Linked DNA regions of Homo sapiens: all the other regions are linked to region 1. The links are contacts of gene promoters, found by promoter capture Hi-C in blood cells and fetal thymus (Javierre and others, 2016). All regions are on one chromosome and are shown on one strand. Each heading gives the region's core, a stretch centred on a gene start or on the middle of the fragment in contact. The rest is flanking DNA. Distances are from core to core; before and after follow the strand shown. Region 1 holds the start of CD59 (CD59 molecule (CD59 blood group)). Region 2 overlaps KIAA1549L (KIAA1549 like). Region 3 overlaps HIPK3 (homeodomain interacting protein kinase 3).

Region 1 (3,906 bases), core at 164-2,663:
TTTCCACTGTGAAAATACAGAGGCCACAAGTTTTAGGACTGTTTGGCTTGTAGGGGAGGCAGCCTCCCTTTCTGCCTCTCCTTCATAAACTGCCACGTAAATAGCCACATTTTGGCAAACGTTGCCATCTCCCTCAACATTCGGGGCTCTGTGCCTTCTTCAGGGAACTGGGAGTAAACCGCCAGGAGTGGAGAACTTGAACAACTGCTCAGGGATCGCAGGGTACCTGAAATAATTAGCAGCCGCCGCGTTTGTGCTGAGCGCTTTCCGTCAATCATCTCAACCACCCTGTGAAGTGAAGCCTATTGTTTTACCCATCAAGTGCTGTTAAATACTTCCAGAAATGACCAGTGAAGAGCCTGGGTATCACTAAACGGCCATAAAAGGCACACTGCTTAATGTTGGTTTTTTTTGTTTGTTCTTTGTGGGTTTTGTTCGTTTTTGAGGCGGAGTCTCGCTCTTATTGCCCAGGCAGTAGGGCAATGGCGCGATCTCGGCTCACCGCTACCTCAGCCTCCCGGGTTAATGTTGTTTTTTGAAAAGTCAGCAGTCAGACTCTAAGAAGGGTGCGGCCCGAGCCGACCCAAGAAAACAAAACATCACGTTGTACTTAAAACGTCCGTTTCGGCCGGGCGCGGTGGCTCACACCTGTAATCCCAACACTTTGGGAGGCGGAGGCGGGCGGATCACGAGGTCAGGAATTCAAGATCAGCCTGACCAACATGGGAAAACCCCGTTTCTACTAAAAATACAAAATTTAGCCAGGCATGGTGGCGCATGCCTGTAATCCCAGCTACTCAGGAGGCTGTGGCAGGAGAATCGCTTGAACCCGGTACACGGAGGTTGCGGTGAACCCAGATCGCGCCACTGCACTCCAGCCTGGGCAACAGCGAAACTCCATCTCAAAAAAAAAAAAAAGTCCGTTTCGCCCGACACCTGCTTTTCAAAATTACACATTTAGACCGCGAGGGGAGAGAGGAACTGCCGTGACCACGGAGGGCTGGCCTTTCCCCCGGCGCAGTTTCTCTGGACCGCTAGAGCTTCCCTTGAGACGAAAGCGATGGCAGGGGCCCGGGTGCGAGGCTGCCCCCGAGGGAATGGGGGGCGCGACGGGGGTAACGGGGCTGCTTCTGGGAGAGGGCGCGCTCCCCGTTTCTCCTTCCTCGTAGATAAAATGAAGCCAGCGTTCGGCTAGGACACCGGGCCGCGGTGACGGGTTGGAAGGGCCAGGCCTCGGGAGGCTCGCCCGGCAGGGGTCGAGTGGAAAGCGAGGACGGGGGTAGCCCCCACAGACCCTCCGCCCGGGCCCAGACTGCCGCCGCCACCTCGGCTCGGCTCACCCAAACCCCAGCAGGCCTTCGGGCCTTCTTACCTGGCGGCGCCCAAGATCCTCTTCCAGCCTCGAGCCGCTTCTGCGCTCAGCCCCCGCATTCTTTCGCTCCAGCCCGCAAGGCTCCGCCCCCCGGCCCCGCCCCTCAGGATGCCCTTGCCCTCCCAGGCTCCCGGCTCCCGCACCGCGCAGCCGCACCTCGGCAGGAACCTCCTCCTCTCCCTCCACCCCCGCGCGGAGCTCAGCCTCCTGGCCCAGGTTCTGAGAAGGCCGGGTGGCCAGGACCCAATGAGCACCTTCAAAACCCCAGGGAACTGAAAGTTTGGGGCGTCCTCCTCGGATTTGCTATGGGACATAAAAACAGTAGGAAACTTCCAAAGACTTCTGATTTTCCCTTTTACTTTTTTTTTAAGTATATTAAAATGTTTTTCAAAACGTTTCTGTGCGTCTTGCTGGTGCCCTGGGTGCCCCAGGGCCTGGCTATCGGGCTATGCGGCCCTGCTGCAGTCTGAAGCTGCTTCCTACTGCGAGGCTTGGGCAGCATCCAAATAGCCATCAGCCACAGCCGCATCCGTATCCGTGCCTTGTGACTTGTTTGAGACCCAAACAAAATGTTATGCGTTTAAAAGCTTACTGGGCTGCTCGGGGACCAGTGTTTTGAATGAACCTCTTCGAGTGTCTCTATCAACTTAGCTGGTAGCTACTGTTCCCCAGCAGCCACCAGAGGCAGGGACAGAAGAGCAAGACCAGGGGATCCGCCTGCATGAGTCTGTCCCTTCAGGGTGGCCTCGCCTCAGGGACTGGATTGTAGGCATGGTTTCAATAACACAGCGGTGTGAAAGTTTAAGAGTTTTTAGTACTTACGGACCCTGGGTGGTACACAGCTTGCCTAGAGGACACACACACACACACACACACACACACACACACACACACGGAGATCAGGGAGAACAGGGAGAGGGAAGGGAGGAACGGACCTTTGGGCCAGCAACTTTATCCAGTTAGGTTTCCTCTGGAGAGCTCTAACTGGTGGATTTAAAAGCAAGCAGGTGAAAAGGCAGAGGTGGGAGGAACTTGAACCAGAGTTTGAAGCTGCAGTAGTGCCCTGTTATCACATCACTGCATGTTTATCTCTGGCCACCAGCTAGAGCCATTTGCGTGGGGTATAGTACTGGAAACTGTCAATGGTGACTGAGACTTGCTTCTGTTATTAAAAGTTAAACATATTCAAAAATGGATGCTGAGGTAACAAAAAATTATAAGCACTCACCAGAACCGCAACCACCATTTGGAACATTAGTTTTATGTGCAGATGTAATTAGAAGTTTCCATTTGCTATTATATTTGGAAAGTGTCCCACTCACTGCAGAACTGACTGTAAGAACGCCATAGGAGGGAGGGTGGGGCTACAGGCCAAAAGTACAAGTCTTCCTCCAAGAGGATGGCCTCTGTTAGAAAGCATGAGACACACTTTGAGGGTCAGGGTGAGAAGATATTACATCTCAGGGCTGCTTGTGTTGAACTGGTCAGGGAAGAAGGCATGAGATAAAATTTAAGCAGGGGGAATCATAGATTACTGAATGTCTTGCAGGGAAAATCATATAGTAACTGTCTTGACGCTTCTACTGTTATTCTGATGGCTTTGGGATGTCAGGGAATGAGTTCCATTTGGTGGTGCTCAAATCCTGGTATTCCTCTATACAAGTGGGAGTTTTTTAAATCAGGATGACTTGCTTTGATATTTAAAGCATGTCTCCTTAAAACAGCTAATACTGTATATTTCCCAAGATGGATTCCAAAGCTCTTTTGTGTACATACCTTACACACATCCTGTTAGCTATTCCTTCCTTGACACGCTTGGCTTCTGAGATGCCACTCTCTCCTAGTTTGGTTCCCTAGAATGGTTTCTTGACCATTCGGTCTTGAGATTCTTTTCCTTTACCCACTAATAATTTGGTGTCCCAGGATTAGACTGAGAACCATGGCTGTGTGTGCTCCCTGGGAGACTATAGTGTATCTACTCTTTTACCTTGGGATGTATGTTTGCAGATGATTCAAAAGTCTGTCTCCATCCCTGACCACTCCCCCTATCTTCATATTCATATCCAGCTGACTGCTGGACATCTCCACTTATATGTTCCACAGACATCTTGAACTTAATGTGCACAAATCTGAATTCATCTTTAAAGAGTGACTGCTTTTCCTGAATTTTTTTCATAAATGAAGACAGAAACCTAGGAATCAACGTTGACCTCTTCCACTCCCTCACATCTACTCAGCCATTCCTGCCTATTTTACCATTTCAATATCTCAATTTCATTCCTTTTTCACATTGCTACTGTGCTAATTCAGATCTGTAGTTTGCGTTGCTTGAGCCATTACAATTCCTTAATACCAGGTCCCCATGTTGCCCATGTCAATTCCTGCATCCCCTGCCCCTTCTCTGCTTGCCCTCCACACGGCTGCTAGAGACCTGGCTAGTTTACCTCTCCAGCCTCATGCCTCACTTTTCATTTTCCACTTCATTTTACCTTGTTATCATCATCCTTTTGTGAATACAATATGCCTGCAGCAGC
Region 2 (3,532 bases), core at 582-3,081, 350 kb before region 1:
GATTTAGATTGAGATTTATATATGTTAAATCTATTCTTAGCTAGAAATAAAATCTCCTGACGTCAGACACACAAAATGGTTTTGGTATTTATGCAGTTCAAGTAAATGGGGAAGCCTAGAATACTTCTAACTTCAGTCTTTCCACATGAAATATGGAATGAAGTATCTAGAATGAAACTGGGACTCCCAGACCTGTCTGCCTACCTCTGTCCCTAGTAATGAATGCCGTTCCCCTGTCACTTGCCTTTTTATTTACCAGGTGTCAACAGCAAACCCAAGAAGGCTGAAGAAAAATGGGAAGTGTGAGAAGAAAATGTGTTGAAATTGACAGTGTGGCTTATAAGTTCTTGTTGAAAAGGGATGAATAAAAATATCTCTAGATTTGTATCCTTCATTGTCCGTTAAGAAGTCTTTGTTTTGAAAAGAATGGGAGGATCAGTCTTTGGAGCATTATTTTGAACATAATTAAGCTGGGTGAAAGTGTATTAAAAAATCAGCATCCTAGAACTGTCTTTGGCAGTTTCCTGTTATTATCTTATTAATACTGGAGATGAACGTATGAATCAAGCTGGTGAACCCTACGGAAACTGAACCTTTTTTTCCAGTTGGATGGGGAATATTTCTCTAGTCTCTAGTCCAGCAATAAACACATTTTAAACAAGTGTTTTCCATTCTTGTGACCAATGTAATATCTTTTCTTTTCCCTGCAGAGACAACAGTCTCCAGAGTTTGGTACAACAGTTCACGGTTGTCGAAGCTTTCAGTTTCTTTTCCTATTTGAATCTCACACTACTCTAAGAGAGGGTTGAGAAAGTGATTTGCTAAAGGTCACACATTGGTCCAGGGATTTGCACATTATTCTGTGATTCAGGGGACAGATCACCTAGCTACACAACTAAAACTAGCTCCAGTATGGGGCCTCAGGCCATGGGGGAATCCCAGGTGACATATTCGTAATAGGAATGAAATATAACCAGGCCACGTGGATGCTATAATTAATTGATAGAAATAACAGCTAATACTTTTGAGCATTTACTGTTTGTATCAGTTCATTTGATTCTCATACCAACCCTATGAAGTAGGTTCTGCAATTATCCCCATGTTTCAGAAGAGAGAACTGAGGCACAGAATAACTTAACAGTAACTGGTTCAGTGTCTCCCAGTTAACTGGCAGAGTAGAGATTGGAACCCAGGCAGTTCGATTCCAGAGCCCACACTCTGCTTCATGATATTGCCCTCCAGGATATTAAGAGGCTAAGGTTACTGGCTGTGCATCTCCTGGGCCCAGTGCCTCTTCTTCCTATGGCCCAGTTCATCCTTCTGCCTCTTTCTGGAGACTGGCTTTTTCTGCTTCCCCATAGCTTCTTGGTTCCCCTGACAATAAACCTTGCACGGGGCTTTTCACTTGCTGTGGTGCTCACTGCAGCCAGAGTGGGCAAGCCTCTTTAGTTTAAACGCCCACCATCAAGACTCTGCCCCAGTTCCACATTCCCATGAGGGAGAATCAAGCTGCTGCAATCTGGCCAATGGAATTAGGGAAACTACCTCTCATCCATTCAGCAGAGGCCAGAGGAGAAGGGGCACATGGTATAAAAATGCCTTCTTAGCCTGATCCCCCTTTCACCATGGCCTTGGTAGAGGTCAGTTTTAAATGTCAGTTTGGAGGGCAAACTTCTGAACATTTGTCTCCTCCTTCGTAGCAGTAAAAGACAACTTCACATGTTGGTAAGCTTGTTCTATGGAAGATAACAATGACAGGTGGCCTGCTTGATAGTGTTGGCCAATTTTCCTTGTATAAATACTCCCACCATGGCTGATTTCAAGCTACTAACATGATAATGGAGTTGGGAAGTGATGCCTCAACTGGCTCAGCTCTGATGTGACCTGGCCCTGGCACACCAATGCTCCTATCCATATATGGGCTAGAGGAAGGGAAGCTTCCACAGTAGGTGCACGATGTCTCCAAGGACTTTGAAACCTAGGCTTCACAGGCCAGTCAACTAGTTGCATTTGTAATTATGTAAAAGGGAATAAGATTTCAAGGTAGAGAGGATGGGAGTCAGATTTGCTGCGTGGTCTAAAACAGCTTCAAATACTGTGTATAGTCCCAATGGTACAACCTAGTAGGCACTCAGCGATGCTTTATAAAAAATTGCAATTTCCTTTGATTATGGTGTCTCACTTGTGACATATAATTAACCCTTTCACTGAATTTAAGACGTCAGACCTAATTTTCTTGAATGAGCATTGGTTTGGTTTTCTGGCACGGAAAGGTGAAATTTTTCTTTGCTTCCAGATGTCAGCAGCTCCTCCTCCTTTGCTGTCATCATGTCATCATGTTTCAAACCTAGGGATGCGGAGTCCACGTGGTACCCTAGTAGATGTCTTTTAGTTGGATACACATTATTAGTCTCAATTGGAGGCTTTTATTTATGATCATAAGGCCATCTCTCAGTTCATGTAATTATGCTAAAAGCCAAGACAGTCATGTGACTGCCACTTCCGACGGCGTGTCTGGTGCTTTAACAGATCTCAAGGCCTGTCTGATTGGCTCTTTTCATTTGCACATCTGAGAAGGAGACTGGGAGTCTTGGCTTCAGTGTGCTGCTTAAGATGCTGCCGACATTCCCCATCTTTCCTCCTGATGTGATGATGTTGCTAACCTTGGCCAGCTCTCACAACGGGTCGTGTTGGTCACTGGGAGATGCAGGGAGGAAGTGTCAACAGTGTGGATCTCTCACCCTCCTTAGACATGGAACTCCCAGTGTCCTACTGATGGAAGGTCAGTGTCTTTACCTATAAAAATAGCACAATTAATTTATTCTTTTAATTTCCCATGGGGCATAGCAAGAGAAAAATTTTTACAAGATTCTTCTTTCACATTTTATTGAAGATTTGTCCTAGTTTGTGAATATGTAGACTTCTGAATAAGAAGACTAACATTTATGAGACAGCTATTATTGTGTTAGTCACTGGATCAAGGGTTTAATCTTATTGAGTCCCCATGACGATGACACTGTCAGATAGTTCTTGCCCATTTTGCTTGGAGGAAGTTGAGATTGAGAGAACATGTAAAAACCAACTGGCCTAAGGGCACATTGCTTGTAAGTAGTGGAGCTGGGATTTGAAACTAGATCTGATTACAATGTAAATATATTATCAGTTATACAGTGCAGTCCTTCCCTGCCCACCCAACATTTTATGAAGTTGTCAAACACACGGAAAAGTAGAAAGAACAATATAGTAAACACCCCTATATCTACCATCTAAATGGTGCAATTAACATTTTGCTTTATCATATATCTGTCTGTCCCACTATCCATCAATTCATCTTATTTTTGATGTATTCAGAGTAAGTTGCAGACATCAGTACATGTCACCCCTAAATACTTTCGCATACATGTCATTGATTAGGGTTCAGTATTTGTTTATGACTCTTTTTCTGAGGTAAATTTTACATACAATGAAATACAAAACTCTTGAGTACATTTTCTTGAGTTTTTACAAATGTATACACCTGTGTATCCCAAAT
Region 3 (3,647 bases), core at 27-2,526, 400 kb before region 1:
CTGAAATTTTTCCAGTGGTTTCCCATTATTACCTCCTGGCATATAATCCAAATTTCTTAATTTGCTGATAAAGCCCTTTACCTGCTAGTTCAATTTCATCTCTTACCATTCTCTGTTAGTGACCCTCTGTACTTCCAGTCTTTGAATGTGAGGTTATTCTCTCTTGATTTTCTATATTTACACATACTATAACCTTGGCATAGTTTTTCTCCCCACTCTTTCAGTGCAAACTCCTATTTGTCCTTTAACACCAAACTTGAGGACCACCTCTTCTAGAATTTTACCTGACCACAATTACTTTAGGTATGCCTTTTCTATCAAGCGTGCATTTATTATGATACTTATAATTCCACATTATAATTTTTTCCATATATGTTCTCCACTAGACAGTGCATTTCTTGAGGGCATAGACTATGTATTTTCATACCTGACCTAACATATAGCCTAGTGTCTGACTTAAGTGTTCTGTCACATGAAAGAATAAACTATTCTGTTCTGTAAATTATTTTTCAGATTCGATACATTTCTCAGACTCAAGGTTTGCCAGGAGAACAGTTGTTAAATGTGGGTACTAAATCCACAAGATTTTTTTGCAAAGAAACAGATATGTCTCATTCTGGTTGGAGATTAAAGGTAATTCATTAAAAAATAGAATATTTAGAAGACTAGTTTTCTAAGATGCCTCATATGCATGGATAATACCTTCCATGTCTATTTACATTTTACTATATTTCTTCCTTTTTTTGAATTTTCATTTTTGGCCCTTCTTTATTTTATTTTATTTTTTTCAATTTTTTTAGTTTTTATTTTTTGAGATGGAGTTTCTCTCTCTCGCCCAGGCTGGAGTGCAGTGGCGCCATCTTGGCTCACTGCAACCTCCGCCTCCTGGGTTCAACCAATTCGCCTGCCTCAGCCTCCCAAGTAGCTGGGACTACAGGCTTGCACCACCATGCCCGGCTAATTTTTATATTTTTGGTAGAGGCAGGGTTTCACCATGTTGGCCAGGCTGGTCTTGAACTCCTGACCTCAAGAGAACTGCCCACCTCCGCCTCCCAACGTGCTAGGATTACAGGCGTGATCCACCATGCCTGGCCCCGTCCTTCTCTCTCTCTTTCTCTTTTTCTTTTTTTGAGACAAAGTCTTGCTCTCTTGCCCAGGCTGGAGCGCAGTGGTGTAATCTCGGCTCACTGCAACCTCCACCTCCCAGGTTCAAGCGATTCTCCTGCCTTAGCCTCCCAAGTAGCTGGGATTACAGGTGCCTGCCACCATGCCTGGCTAATTTTTGTATTTTTAGTAGAGACAGGGTTTCACCATGTTGGCCAGGCTGGTCTTGAACTCCTGACCTTGTGATCCGCCTGCCTTGGCCTCCCAAAGTGCTGGGATTACAGGTGTGAGCCACTGTGCCCAGCCCCCTTCCTTCTTTAAGAAGAAAGCCCTCTTGGAATAACTTCACTAACTCTCTAATTCAGCAACATAATTATTAATTCATCTTAAATTAAAAAAACTTTTATGTGTATAACTACATTTGTGTTGTGTGTTTATCTTCTCAGTTCTACATTATTACACTTTATAGGACAGGGAATGAATCTAACCACTTACTACATATCCCAAGTGTGCTAGGATCTTTGGAGGAATCAGTAAATCCTCAATAATTAACTTCATAAACAGTTATTATTATTATTGTATTTTTTGAGACAGAGTCTTACTCTGTTGCAAGGCTGGAGTGCAGTGGCGCGATCTTGGTTCACTGCAACCTCCGCCTCCCAGGTTCAAGTGATTCTCCTGCCTCAGCCTCCCAAGTAGCTGGGACTACAGGCATGCGCCACCACACGCAGCTGATTTTTGTATTTTTAGTAGAGACGGGGTTTCACCATGTTGACCAGGATGGTCTCGATCTCTTGACCTCGTGATCCACCCGCCTTGGCCTCCCAAAGTGCTGGGATTACAAGCGTGAGCCGCCGTGCCCGGCCTAGTTATTTTCTTTATGGGGTTTGTTACATTTGTAATATTTTTCTTGGCCTAAACCAAGCACTTCTCATTTTTTTTTTGCGTATACTTTAAAAAATACATTTTTGATAGTGTCTCTTTTGAAATTACTATTTGCCTTAGAATATTTAATATATTAGACTAAATGTGCCAGGATTAAAGAAATTTGTAATAATGTATTCTTTTTTCCCTTTGATATATGCAATAAGACATTGGAAGAGCATGAGGCAGAGACAGGAATGAAGTCTAAAGAAGCCAGAAAATACATTTTCAACAGTCTGGATGATGTAGCGCATGTGAGTACCATAGCCACATTTGTTCATCTTACATGCTTAGATGGTAGACTTGAATGCCAAGGGGCCCAAAACATGTTACTCAGTTTTTAAATGGCTACAGAGTCCATGCTGTTTTTAAGTTTTTCAAATGAAACTGATTCTATTTTCAACCTTTCAGGAACTAAATTGCATTTGTCGTTATCAAAATTTTAATTTACCTATTCGTTCTTTAGTAAAAAAGTTTTTGCTTTGAAAGGAAAAATCCTAGCCAACAGATTTCCCTATATTTCATTAGAAATGGATATTTGTTTAATTTTTAAAAACTTCTTTTATGCTTTGAATCCTATTTGGTACCTCAACACATTTTGAGGATTTGTTAATATTATTTGTTCTTCTTTGTTTTAAGATAATTGTAGTTCCCTCTCCTCTCCTGTGTTGTGATTTTTGTTTTATTTTTTAACGGTGGAATTTATACTACTCTCTGTGACTTATTTTTACTTGATGGCTTGAAATTTTGATTTTCTTAGGTGAACACAGTGATGGATTTGGAAGGAAGTGATCTTTTGGCTGAGAAAGCTGATAGAAGAGAATTTGTTAGTCTGTTGAAGAAAATGTTGCTGATTGATGCAGATTTAAGAATTACTCCAGCTGAGACCCTGAACCATCCTTTTGTTAATATGAAACATCTTCTAGATTTCCCTCATAGCAACCAGTATGTTACTTTAAGATCTTTTAAAGTGGTTCTAAAAAAAAATAAGTCTGTAGAAAATGACTGCATCAGAGAAATTACTTTTCTTCATTAAACACAAGTAACCTGAGTCAAAAGAGGCTAAGCTAACTTGACCAAGTTCACATACACCAGTAAGTGTCAGGGAACTAGAACCCAAGTCTGAATTGCAGTCCAGTGTTCCTTCTCCAAAATGCGATACTAAAAATAAGACTGAGTGGTTTTGTTTTTATTATACATGACTTTCTTACCTTAATAACCAGGCATATATAAAAGGAAATGCTAACAGTTTTCTCTTTAAAGTCACATTTCAGTTTTCCTACACTGTAGGTTCTATCATATTTTGAGTCGTGCAACTTCCATTTTACATTTTTTTTTCCCCACAACTTTTGCTTTCCTTTTTCCTCTTTTTCTCCTGCATTTTGAAGAAAAGGAGGTTTTTCATGGGTCAGTAGATCATAGGTCAGTAGGGAAGAATATATACTAAAATTCCAAAGGCCTTAAATATTACAAATTCTTTGTGTTTTGTTTGTTTGTTTGTTTTGGAGACAGGGTCTTGCTCTGTCAGTTGCCCAGGCTGGAGTGCAGTGGCACAATCTTTGCTCACTACAACCTCCGCCTCACAGGCTCAAGTGCTCCTCCCACCACCTCAGCCTCCT

The links. Contacts are between HindIII fragments. The CHiCAGO score rates a contact against its expected background, and 5 or more counts as called.
Region 2: a contact is called between a fragment that was not itself captured here and the fragment with the promoter of CD59 in region 1, in 2 of 17 cell types (total B cells and naive B cells). The highest score is 6.5, in total B cells.
Region 3: a contact is called between a fragment that was not itself captured here and the fragment with the promoter of CD59 in region 1, in 3 of 17 cell types (M0 macrophages, total B cells and monocytes). The highest score is 6.8, in M0 macrophages.

The regions. Positions count from the first base shown.
Region 1 is chr11:33,735,010-33,738,915 of GRCh38, forward strand. It overlaps CD59 (CD59 molecule (CD59 blood group)), which reads right to left and starts at 1,414. Exons shown (of 4, transcript NM_000611.6): 1 at 1,373-1,414. RefSeq lists a silencer at 1,063-1,532. The HindIII fragment of the contact is 13,854 bases long and covers 1-1,957 here.
Region 2 is chr11:33,389,022-33,392,553 of GRCh38, forward strand. The region is part of intron 1 of KIAA1549L (KIAA1549 like); the gene reads left to right. Among named protein-coding and RNA genes, the nearest start is that of KIAA1549L, 15 kb to the left of the region's middle. The HindIII fragment of the contact is 207 bases long and covers 1,729-1,935 here.
Region 3 is chr11:33,336,562-33,340,208 of GRCh38, forward strand. It overlaps HIPK3 (homeodomain interacting protein kinase 3), which reads left to right. Exons shown (of 17, transcript NM_005734.5): 4 at 514-633; 5 at 2,196-2,282; 6 at 2,789-2,973. Among named protein-coding and RNA genes, the nearest start is that of KIAA1549L, 38 kb to the right of the region's middle. The HindIII fragment of the contact is 6,169 bases long and covers 1-3,647 here.